Linked DNA regions of Homo sapiens: region 2 is linked to region 1. Evidence: promoter capture Hi-C in human tissues and cell types (Jung and others, 2019). All regions are on one chromosome and are shown on one strand. The core of a region is centred on a gene start or on the middle of the fragment in contact, and the rest is flanking DNA. Distances in the headings are between cores, read along the strand shown.

What was found. The method cuts DNA at HindIII sites, captures the fragments that hold promoters and counts their contacts. A contact is called where the count stands out against the background at its distance.
Region 2: a contact is called between a fragment that was not itself captured here and the fragment with the promoter of BCL7A in region 1, in 1 of the 25 tissues and cell types used here (pancreas).

What each region holds. Positions count from the first base shown.
Region 1 is chr12:122,018,343-122,023,953 of GRCh38, forward strand. BCL7A (BAF chromatin remodeling complex subunit BCL7A) reads left to right here and starts at 3,542. Exons shown (of 6, transcript NM_001024808.3): 1 at 3,542-3,841. The coding sequence starts at 3,750. RefSeq lists silencers at 3,421-3,500, 3,631-3,950, 4,101-4,260 and an enhancer at 4,095-4,910. The HindIII fragment of the contact is 14,578 bases long and covers 1-5,611 here.
Region 2 is chr12:121,870,180-121,875,790 of GRCh38, forward strand. TIALD (transcript inducer of AURKA lysosomal degradation) reads left to right here. Exons shown (of 3, transcript XR_002957437.2): 3 at 4,016-4,158. It also overlaps a transcript of HPD not described here. Among named protein-coding and RNA genes, the nearest start is that of HPD, 14 kb to the left of the region's middle. The HindIII fragment of the contact is 7,965 bases long and covers 1-5,611 here.

The DNA.
Region 1 (5,611 bases), core at 2,292-4,791:
CAGAAGCCTGTAAACCATCTGCAGCACATCCCTGGCTCCACCCTCAGACTACAAGAAGTCAACCAGTCTTGCACAACTATGCGGCCAGGATTCGCATCACCTGAGTGGTCGGGGGCTCACAAACCCTGAACTAGGATTGAGGTCACCCCAGACTAGCAGTGACCTGAGGGGCCTGGCAGAAGCAAATATAAATTATTTCTAGGGGGAGGCCTCAAATTATCCCTATGAATAAATTTTAAAATAGTGTCCAGCATGGTCAAAGAGAACCAGGCATATAACAAGGAACTATGACACCATGAGCAAGACCTAGCAGAAACAGACTCTTGGAGACTTCAAATACTAGAATCATCAGACACAGGCTGTAAAACTACTGTGCTTTGTTGAAAGAAAGAAGTGTAAAAATACCTGCAGGAGACAGGAAACTACTAAAAGTGACATACTAGATTTACAAAGGACATTTGAAGAAAGCTTTATGGTTTTATTGGGGATCAAAATCACAAATACTTTCAGGGGCCAGACAGGTAACACAAATGAGTAAAGTGGCTATGAGTGCACTGGTGACCCAGATAACTCTGTCTGAAAGATACAGACAGAGCTCTCTGCTCTAGCCGATGGGTGCCATGTGGCACTGAGGGTCCAGTTTGCAGATCTGCTGGTTCTAGAGAAGCTGGGTATTTTTTTTTTTCCTTCCTTCCTTCCTCCCTCCCTCCTTCCCTCTTTTTCTTCCTTCTTCCTTCCCTCCCTCTCTCCTTCTCCTCATCCCTCTCTCTTTTCTTCTTTCTTTCTTTCGTTCTTTCTTTTCTCTCTCTCTCTCTCTCTCTCTCTTTCTTTGCTTCATGCAGTGGCATGATCTTGGCTCACTGCAGCCTCTACGTTCTGGGCTCAAGCCATCTTCCCCACCTCAGCCTCCTGAGCAGCTGGGGCTGCAGATGCGCACAACCACACCTGGCTATTTTTTGAATTTTTTGTAGAGATGGGGTTTCACCATGTTGCCCAGGCTGGTCTCAAACTCCTGGCCTCTAGCAGTCCACCCACCTCGGCCTCCCAAAGTGCTGGAATCACAGATGTGAGCCACCGCGCCCAGCCTAGATTTCTTTTTATTATGATCAAATACACATAAAATTGACCATTGTAACCATTTAAAAGTGTACAATTCAGCGTCATTAAGTACATTCACATTGTTCTGCAACCATCACCACTATCTCATTCCAGAACTTTCCTATCACTCCGAAAGGAAACCCCACATCCGTTAGCAGTCACTCCTGCTCTCCCTCCCCCTTGCCTCTGGCAACCACCAATCTGATATCTGTCTTTATGGATTCGCCTAGTTGTAGATATCTCCCGCAAATGGACTTACGCATATTTATCCTTTTGTGACTGGCTTCTTTCACTTAGCGTGTTTCAAGGTTCACCCATGTTGTAGCATGTATTCATTCCCTTTTATGGCTGAATAATATTCCATTGTGTGGATAGACACATTTATCTGTTCCTCAGTCACTATTTGAATTCTGACATAATATTTTCCTATTTTAAATTTTAAGATACATTTTTTTAAAGTTTCATGTGGCCCAAAGCACATACCTATTGATCTCACATATCTCTGTGAGATCTGTTTTATGACCTGCTGTTGCATATTTTCCCAGAAAATTCTCGGAACGATTCTCTGAAGTCCTTCTTTCTCTTTCTCTTTTTTTTCTTTTTCTTTCTCTCTTTCTTTTTTTGTTTTGTTTTGTTTTATTTTGTTTTGTTTTGTTTTTTTGAGATTCAGTTTTGCTCTGTTGCCCAGGCTGGAGTGCAATGGCATGATCATTGCACCTCTGCCTCCCAGGTTCAAGCATTTTCCTGCCTCAGCCTCCCGCGTAGCTCAGATTACAGGCCTGCACCACCACGCCCAGCTAATTTTTGTATTTTTAGTAGAGACAGGGTTTCTCCATGTTGGCCAGGCTGGTCTCGAACTCCTGACCTCGTGATCTGCCCACTTCGGCCTCCAAAGTGCTGGGATTACAGGCATGAACCACCGCGCCCGGCCTTTTTTTTTTTTCTGAGACAGGGTCTCACTCTGTCTCCCAGGCTGGAGTGCAGTGGCTGGATCTCTGCTCACTGCAACCTCCGTCTCCCAGGTTCAAGCGAGTCTCCTGCCTCAGACTCCCGAGTAGCTGCGATTACAGGAGCCCACCACCGCGCCCGGCTAATTTTTGTATTTTTAGTAGAGACGGGGTTTCACCCACCATGTTGGCCAGGCTGGTATCGAACTCTTAACCTCAAGTGATCCACCCGCCTCGGCCTCCCAAAGTGCTGGTATTACAGGCATGAGCCACCGCGCCCGGCCAGTATTTGTTCTTTTCTTCATTTTTCACGTCAGGAGACTGCGTTTCAGAATAGTAAAAACAAATGCCTAGGAAAAGGCCTGCGGTCTCTCCATTTCCACAGTAGCGTGTTCCCCAAAGACCAAACCCTCAGGGGAAACGTCTAGAATGAGTAACAACTTAAGGCTGCAACCTTAAACTTTCCCAGGACTCAGTTTCCCCAGCTGTGAAATGGCTGCTGTCGGGCTGTCATCTCCAGGCCCGGGGCGCTGACATTTGGGCCACTCTCGGTCTCCCTCTTCATTCTGGGCGCGCATTAGCTCTGGTCCGGCCGGTTCCGCTGCAGCTGAACAGCAAGATGCGGCACCCAGGTTACCCTGATCATCGCAGATTTCTCCCCGGGGCTCTGTTCTGAGGCCTCAAAAGTGCTCCTTGTAGATGGGACCAGGGGTCATTTGGGCAGTAGCAGCGCCTGGTCTCAGTCTGGTACTGAAGTCAGGAATGGCTTAAGGTGAAATCGTGGTCCTCTGGTGAAGCTCAGCGAAGACCCCCTCGCCTTGTTTATGACAAGAGAACTTCTGGGGGCGGGAGGAAGAGTCCCTGTTACGATGCTGATCATCATTGAGCTTTTGCTGAGCAGAAAACTCTTTAGTACTCAAGGTCGAGAGTCTCTGGTGGTCTGCCTGGCACCAGGCACCTTCCTACAACCCTAGTTTTCCAAAAGGACAAAGCCTGGGGCAGGCGACGTCCTAGCTCGCATTTGAACAGGGCCGCGGGCCAGCAGAGATGCGCGATGCCCAACTCTTTCCAAGAGCACCTCGCGTCCCGAACCGGTGCCTTCAACTCGGAGAAGTCAAGAGACCCGCAAGAAACTTGCACGACTGCACCCGCCGCCGCGCTCTGGGGGCTGGGCAGGGGCAGCTGGGCTGGCTCCCGGGGAACGCGACCCCCCCGCGCCCCGCAGACCGGCTGTCTCCCATGGACCCCTCGGCACCTGCAGCCTCCGAGGAAGGGTCAGCGCGCGTGTCCGCACGCCCGCCCCCACCGCGCGCCCAGAGCCGGGGGTCGCCGTGCGCCCTTCGCCACCTCCCCAGGAGGGCGTCCGGGGCGTCCCCTCTGGGGGCGCAGGAGGCCCGGGGGCGCTGCCCGGTGGCCGCGGCGCCCGGAGGCCGCACTGCCGGCGGCGGCGGCGGCGCGGCTCCCCCTGCTCTGTGCAGCTGCCGCCCGGCGCTTGCGCACTGGGCCAGGCGCGCGGCGGCCCCGGGCTTTGTGTGTGTGTGTATGTGTGTGTGTGTGTGTGTGTGTGTGTGAGTGTGTGCGTGTGAGAGTGCGAGTGTCTGTGCGCGAGTGAGTGAGCGGCGGGCGGGCGCGAGTGTGGCCGCCGCGGAGCGCGAGCAGGACCCGGCGGGCGCGCTCCCCAGCCTCCGTCTCCCCGCCGGAACCATGTCGGGCAGGTCGGTTCGAGCCGAGACGAGGAGCCGGGCCAAAGATGATATCAAGAGGGTCATGGCGGCGATCGAGAAAGTGCGCAAATGGTAAGCGGAGGCGCCCGCCGCCAGCCGCCTCCCCGGCCGCCCCGAGCCCGAGCGCGGCTCCAGAGAGCCGCGGGGCGCAGCGCCCCGGCCGCCTGCCCCGGCCCAGCCCCGCCGCGGGCCCCGGGACTTGGCGAGGGCGGGCGGACGGGCGGGCGGCGCGCGAGCCGGGTCACCTGCGCCAGGCTGGGGCCGCGGCCGCTGCCCAGGTGCGCTCGCGCCTGTAGCCCACCTGGCGCGGCGGCCCGGAGGCGGCGGGCGCCGGGGCCAGGCGGTTGGAGCGGCGGGGCGGCCCCCGCCGCGGCGCTCGGCTCCCGGGAGGGGGGCTCGGGGCCGGCCCCAGAAGCCATTTCGTTTTGTGCAAGTCACATGAAAGCGGCTTCCCGCGCGCCGGGGCCGCGATGCCGGCGGCGGCGGGGAGAGCGCGAGCTCCATTGTGCAGGCTCCGAGCGGGCCGCCGCCGCCGTCTCCTCCCCGCGCACCCCGGCCCGCGCCCCGCCGCCCTCCGCCAGCCCCGGCCCGCCCGGCCGCCCGCTCCCGCCTCCCGGGCCCGGCGCCCTCGAGTCTGCGGAGTTTGCAGAGCGCGAGCCGTTTAAATTTAGCGCTTTGGGCTGCCTGGAGCGAGGGCTCTCGGCGACCAGGAAAGATGGGGGCGAGCGCTGGGAGCCAGCGGCCAGGGGCGCGGGGCGCCCACGTCCCACCCCGCTCTGCGCGGCGCCCCGGGCGGGGGGCTCGGGCCAGCCGATGTTTTTGGCCAGAAGCCGTTCGTCCTGGGCCGCGGCTGCCTCTCCACACCGGGAGCTCGTGTTTGTTTTGCGGAGGGAGCTGTTGTTTTTGTTCTCTGCACCGGGGAGAGGGGGACTTGGTGGCGGCCGCGCGTGGTTTTCGGGATCACATTAGCGTCCGCCCGGCGTGGCCCGGTCGACATTAAGGGGATCGAACCTTTCCGCGGCCTCGTCGGGGTCTGCTCGGAATCGGCCCCTGGGCCAGGCCCGAGGCGCAAGCAGATCGCCAGGTTGGGTCAGAGTTGTTGAAAACTCCCCGCTGCCTGATTTCAACTTTATTATTTTTTTCCCACGCCTTCACTGGGGTCCCGGAGGGAGAGGAGCCGCCGCAACGCTGGCTCTGAGTGTCAGCGCCCGCGGGCTCGTCTCGACCCTTTATTTCGAGCCTGGAAGCTGGGCAGGCCCTGTGGCAGGGGATGTTTACGTTTGGGGGTGTCGTTTCTCGAGTAGCGCCTCGGTCTCTAAAAGCCACTGGGGGCGAGCCTCCGGTGTGGCGGTGTCACAAGTTAGCTGTCCTTTCTGAGTCAAACCCAACAAAAAAGGCAAGAGGAAAATCAATAAAGTCCACGTGCTCCCCGGCCTCCTATGGAAAGGGCTGGCTGCGATGGCCGGATGCCCGGCCGTGGGCTGGGTTTGGCTCCAGTGGGACAAAGAATTTTCAGAACCGTGAGAAGGGGAGGCTTTCCAAAGTTGAGATCCAAGTCGTCGGTGTCTCGGGAGCTCCCCTGGTACACAGGGTGCCCGGTGCCCGACTGGAGCCATTTAAAAATGGCAGAAACAGCTGCAGGCCAACACACACACGCTGGAAAACAACCCGCAGCCCCCTCTACTGTGGGATTCCCCGCGGGAAGCCCGGAGTTGCTCCCCTCCTTGCCTCAGCCCCTGTGCAAAGAAAGAACTGGTGTCTGTGCCTGGGTCCCTTCTGTCGCCGGCCTGGAGGTTGGGAAACAGCCGGCAAGCCGCCTTTCTCTGCTCGAGGAGGCGTGGT
Region 2 (5,611 bases), core at 1,324-3,823, 150 kb before region 1:
AAATAATTAAAATAATGTTAACACAAACTAAATTCCCATTTTCTGGTCACTTTGTTTTATGTGCCAGGCACTGTACTAAGCACATTCCATGCTCTGCTCTTTACTCATTAAATCCACAACAACCCTGTTAAGTAGGTGCTCTCATATCCCCATTTCACAGATTAGAAGATGGAGGCTTACTAGCTAGGTGTGGTGGCGCATGCCTGTAATCCCAGCTACTAGGGAGGCTGAGGCGGGAGAACCACTTGAACCAGGAGGCGGAGGTTGCAGTGAGTGGAGATCGTGCCACTGCACTCCAGCCTGAGTGACACAGTAAGACTCTGTCTCAAAAAAAAAAAAAAAGAAGGCAAGGATGGGTGATCTCATTGTCAGGGGGTTTAGATTTTATCTTTGAGACAATAGGGAGCTATTGAAGGTTTTTTTTTTTTTTTTTTGAGACAGAGTTTCACTCTTGTTACTTAGGTTGGAGTGCAATGGCGGGATCTCAGCTCACCACAACCTCTGCCTCCTGGGTTCAAGCGATTCTCCTGCCTCAGCCTCCTGAGTAGCTGGGATTATAGGCATGTGCCACCACACCTGGCTAATTTTGTATTTTTAGTAGAGATGGGGTTTCTCCATGTTGGTCAGGCTGGTCGTGAACTCCCGACCTCAGTTGATCCGCCCGCCTCGGTCTCCCAAAGTGCTGGGATTACAGTCATGAGCCACCGCACCCGGCCTATTGAAGGTTTTATAGTAGAGATGCAACGTGATCAGAACATTAAAGCTTGCTCTGCTCTAGGTGAGCACAGGGAAGAGAGCTGGGCTGGAAACCCAGCTGCCCAGAGCTGCTGTGCCATTGCCCAGTGGCCTATTTGTGATTCTCCATTAGGTTTGGGGAAGATAAGTAAACCAAGAAGCTTTACATTTAAAAATTGGATCTAGGCTGTAATCCCCTCACTTTGGGAGGCCGAGGCAGACAGATCGCTTGAGCCTAGGAATTCAACATGACCCTGGGTAACATGGCAAAACCCCATTTCTACAAAAAAAAACCCCAAAATCAGCCAGGTGTGGTGGGGCACACCTGTAGTCCTAGCTGCTCAGGAGGCTGAGACGGGTGAATCGATTGAGCCCAGGAGGTTGAGGCTACAGTGAGCTGTGATTATGCCACTGCACTCCAGCCTGGGTGACAGAGTGAGACCCTGTCTCAATTAAAAAAAAAAAATGCATCTAAAAGCAGTCAAATAGCCCTGTGCTCTGCTTCCTGCAATCTACAACTGGAGACTCCCAAACAGGCAGAACTAGTGAGGATTCAGAGGCAGAAGTCCATGGACAGAACCTCACCCCTCCCCTGCCAGGCCCCACAGCTCTCCCAAGCAAGGGCAGCTGGGACCAGAGCAGGTGAAGGCTGGCCCGGGTGCCCAGCTAGTCTTGTTATCAGGGCTGGTGATCCTGGGCAGGGCCACTTAGGTGGGGCTGGTCTTTATCTCTTGAGGTACAGAGCCCATGTGTCTGAGCTTTGTGGTGACAGGAAGCTGTATCACCAGGCACCAGTGATGGCTGGGAGGGACCAGAGAGTTGGTGGCACGGGACATAGGACCCCTGGGCTCTGAAGACTGTGTAATCTTGGGCCACTCCTGGCATCCTCTGAGTCTTAGTGTCCTAACTGTGCAAGCCAGGGAGCACTGGAGCTGGTGTGGACCGTAGGATGTCCTCTGTTCCTGGCACCGGGGCATTGAGGAGTGTCCTGGAGATTTCTTTTCTCTCTTTTTTTTCTTTTTGAGATGGAGTCTCGGGCTGGGCGCGGTGGCTCACGACTGTAATCCCAGCACTTTGGGAGGCCGAGGCGGGTGGATCACAAGGTCAGGAGTTCAAGACCAGCCTGGCCAAGATGGTGAAACCCCGTCTCTACTAAAAATACAAAAAAAAAAAAAATTAGCTGGGCGTGGTGGTGGGCACCTGTAATCCCAGCCACTCAGGAGGCTGAGGCAGAGAATTGCTTGAACCTGGGAGGCGGAGGTTGCAGTGAGCCAAGATCACGCCACTACACTCCAGCCTGGGCGACAGAGCGAGACTCCTCTCAAAAAAAAAAAAGAGATGGAGTCTTGCTCTGTCGCCCAGGCTGGAGTGCAATGGTGCACTCCCACTGCAACCTCCGCCTCCCAGCTTCAAGTGATTCTCCTGCCTCAGCCTCCTGAGTAGCTGGGACTAACAGGAGCCCGCCACCAGGACCAGTTAGTTTCTTTTGTATTTTTAGTAGAGACGGGGTTTCACCATGTTGGCCAGTCTAGTCTTGAACTACTGACCTCAAGTGATCCACCTGCCTCAGCCTCCCAAAGCATTGGGATTGCAGGCATGAGCCACCGTGCCTGGCCTAAAATTTCTTGTCTCTCCAGCATCCACTCCTGTTCTCATAACAGCGTCTCCCTTCTCCATCCTTTCCCTGCTCCGTTCATGTCGTTTGGGTGGGGCATGTGAGCCAGGACTGGGCAGTGAGAATCCCTGTGATTGGTTCAGGGCTGGGCACCTGGCCAGAACTGGCCATATGGATTTGCTCTGGATCTTCTGCTTGAGAAAAGAGGCTCACTCTGAGCTCTGAGTATGCTGCACTGATCCAGTGGTGCTGCGGGGGCCAACCCTGAGTCAGCTGAAGGAAAACATGCTTGTATATAAAGCCAGAACAGAGAAACCAGAGCTGAGAGAAGATAGGCTGATTCCTGATGTCTGAGCAACTTGTTCCAGGCAGAAACAAGCTCCTGGATGAGTCAAACCTTTTTCCCTTTTGCTTAAGCTAGTTTGAGTTGGGTTTCTGGCATTTACAACCACTGGTGCTGACAAACACAAAGAAAGAAACAATAACACCACCACCATCTGTGAGCATGTATTCACTGTCAAGCACCGAGGTAGGGATCATGGGGATTGTCTGTTCCACAGGGAGGTAGTACTTGATCATTTTGTTTGCATTTGCTGGCACACATAAAATAAAGTTGACTGATTTTAGCAGTTTTTATTATTATTTTAAAACTCTCTGCAGACATTGCATCCCTGTGGTAGATTCTACTGTCCATAACCCTTCAAGGAAGGCCTCAATGCCCAGCTGTAGGGAGACTGGTTGGCTGTCACCTCCTATCGGATCTGCCTCAGCTGTAGAGACTTGGCCACAGCTTTCCCAGAGCAGCCCACTTTTTGTGATTGAGCAAGGGAGTAGAGAGGCTGGTCCCTTTCAGCCCAATGGGGGTGACTCTGACCAGTGAGTCTGTCTCCAGGGCCCCGGTAGGGCTGGCCAAGGCCTTGTGGAGTCTCCACCACTGAGTTCTCCTTCTCCCCAGTCCAGCCTCCTCTGCTTCCTTTCACTGATGTGGATCCTTAAAATCATTTTATGGCCGGGCGCGGTGGCTCACGCCTGTAATCCCAGCACTTTGGGAAGCTGAGGCGGGCGGATCACAAGGTCAGGAGATCGAGACCATCCTGGATAACACCATGAAACCCCATCTCTACTAAAAAAATACAAAAAATTAGCTGGGCGTGCTGGCGGGCGCCTGTGGTCCCAGCTACGCGGGAGGCTGAGGCAGGAGAATGGCGTGAACCCGGGAGGTGGAGCTTGCAGTGAGCCGAGATCGCGCCACTGCACTCCAGCCTGGGAGACAGAGACTCCGTCTCAAAAAAAAAAAATCATTTTATGGCCAGGCATGGCGGTTCACGCCTGTAATCCCAGCGCTTTGGGAGGCAGAGGCAGAGGATCGCTTCTGTCCAGGAGTTCAAGGCTGCAGTGGGCTATGATTTTGCCACTGCACTCCAGCCTGGGTGACAGAGCAAGACCCTGTCTCAAACAAAACAACAGCAAGAAAAAAATCTTGCACCCTAAGCTCTGTCTCATCCTCTGCTCCTAGACAACCCAACGCATGACAGCTCCCTTATGACTTGTACCTGATGGGGTGGGAAAGAGGTGATGGAGGCAGCACCCCCCGGTATATGCCACGGCTAAGCACTGTGCCCATTTTATCTCTCAGCTTTCTATTTTTCTCCTCTCATTTTGCAGATGAGGAACTTGAGATTCAAGAAGAGGAAGAATTGCCCAAATAACTTGTTCTTTGTGGCTAGAAAATGCTTACATGGAACTCACCAGGCCACATTCATATTACTATGTTTGTGATCATCCAAACATAAAACCAGTTCCTAGGCCGTGTGCGGTGGCTCACATCTGTAATCCTAGAATTTTGGGAGGCCGAGGTGGGTGGATCACCTGAGGTCAGGAGTTCGAGGCCAGCCTGGCCAACATGGTGAAACCCCCATCTCTGCTAAAAATACAAAAATTAGCTGGGCGTGGTGGCGGGCGCCTGTAATCCCAGCTACTTGGGAGGCTGAGGCAGGAGAATCGCTTGAACCTGGGAGGCAGAGGTTGCAGTGAGCCGAGATCACGCCATTGCACTCCAGCCTGGGCAACAAGAGCAAAACTCCATCTCAAAACAAACAAACAAGCAAACAAACAAAACCAAAAACAGTTCCTGCTTCCAAGATTTTAAGGCATTAACATCCATTTGGGAGATGTGTGCATGTGAAACATCCATTTGGGAGACACCTGAAACATCTGAACTTTCTTTGTCACTTTCTTTTTTTTTTTTTGAGACGTAGTTTCGCTCTTGTTACCCAGGCTGGAGTGCAATGGCACGATCTCTGCCCACCGCAACCTCTGCCTCCCGGGTTCAAGCGATTCCCTTGCCTCAACCTCCCGAGTAGCTGGGATTACAGGCATGTGCCACCACATCCGGCTAATTTTGTGTTTTTAGTAGAGAGGGGTTTCTCCATGCTGGTCAGGCTGGTCTCGAACTCCCAACCTCAGGTGATCTGTCTGCCTCAGCCTCCCAAAGTGCTGGGATTACAGGCGTGAGCCACCGTGCCTGGCCTTGTCACTTTCTTAAGTCTAAAACAAGGCCTGGCAAACATTTTCCATAAAAAGCCATATGGTAAATATTTCTGCTTTGTGGGCTATCAGGCCTCTGCTGAAACTACTGTAGCCTGCAAACAGCCACAGACAATAGGTGAACAAATTGGTGTGGCTATGTGCCAATAAAAACTTATTTACAAAAACAGTCAATGAGGGAAAAAACAGACAGTGGTCCAGATTTAGACCAAGGGCCATGGTTTACCCACCCCTGCCTAGGCAATCAACAAAACAGTAACCTTGGTTTGTAGCATTTCCTGAATTCTGTGGTGTAGATACTCTGTATGGTCAATTTCTTTTCTTTTTTTTCTCCCCCTTTTTCTTTCTTTCTTTTTTTTTTTTTTTTGAGACATGGTCTCACTGTGTCACCTAGACCGAAGTGCAGTGGCTCAATCTCGGCTCACTGCAACCTCCATCTGCCAGGCTGAAGCAATCCTCCTACCTCAGCCTCCCAAGTAGCTGGAATTATAGGTATGTGCCACCAAGCCCGGCTAATTTTTGAATTTCTTATATAGACAGGGTTTCACCATGTTGCCCAGGCTGGTGGCAAACTCTTGGGCTCAAGTACACTGCCCACTTCGGCGTCCCAAAGTGTTGGGATTACAGGCATGAGCCACTGCACCTGGCCGGTATGGTCAATTTCGAGTATCAACATGAAGTCATTGAACTTGGGGTTAAGCTAAGTACAGTACA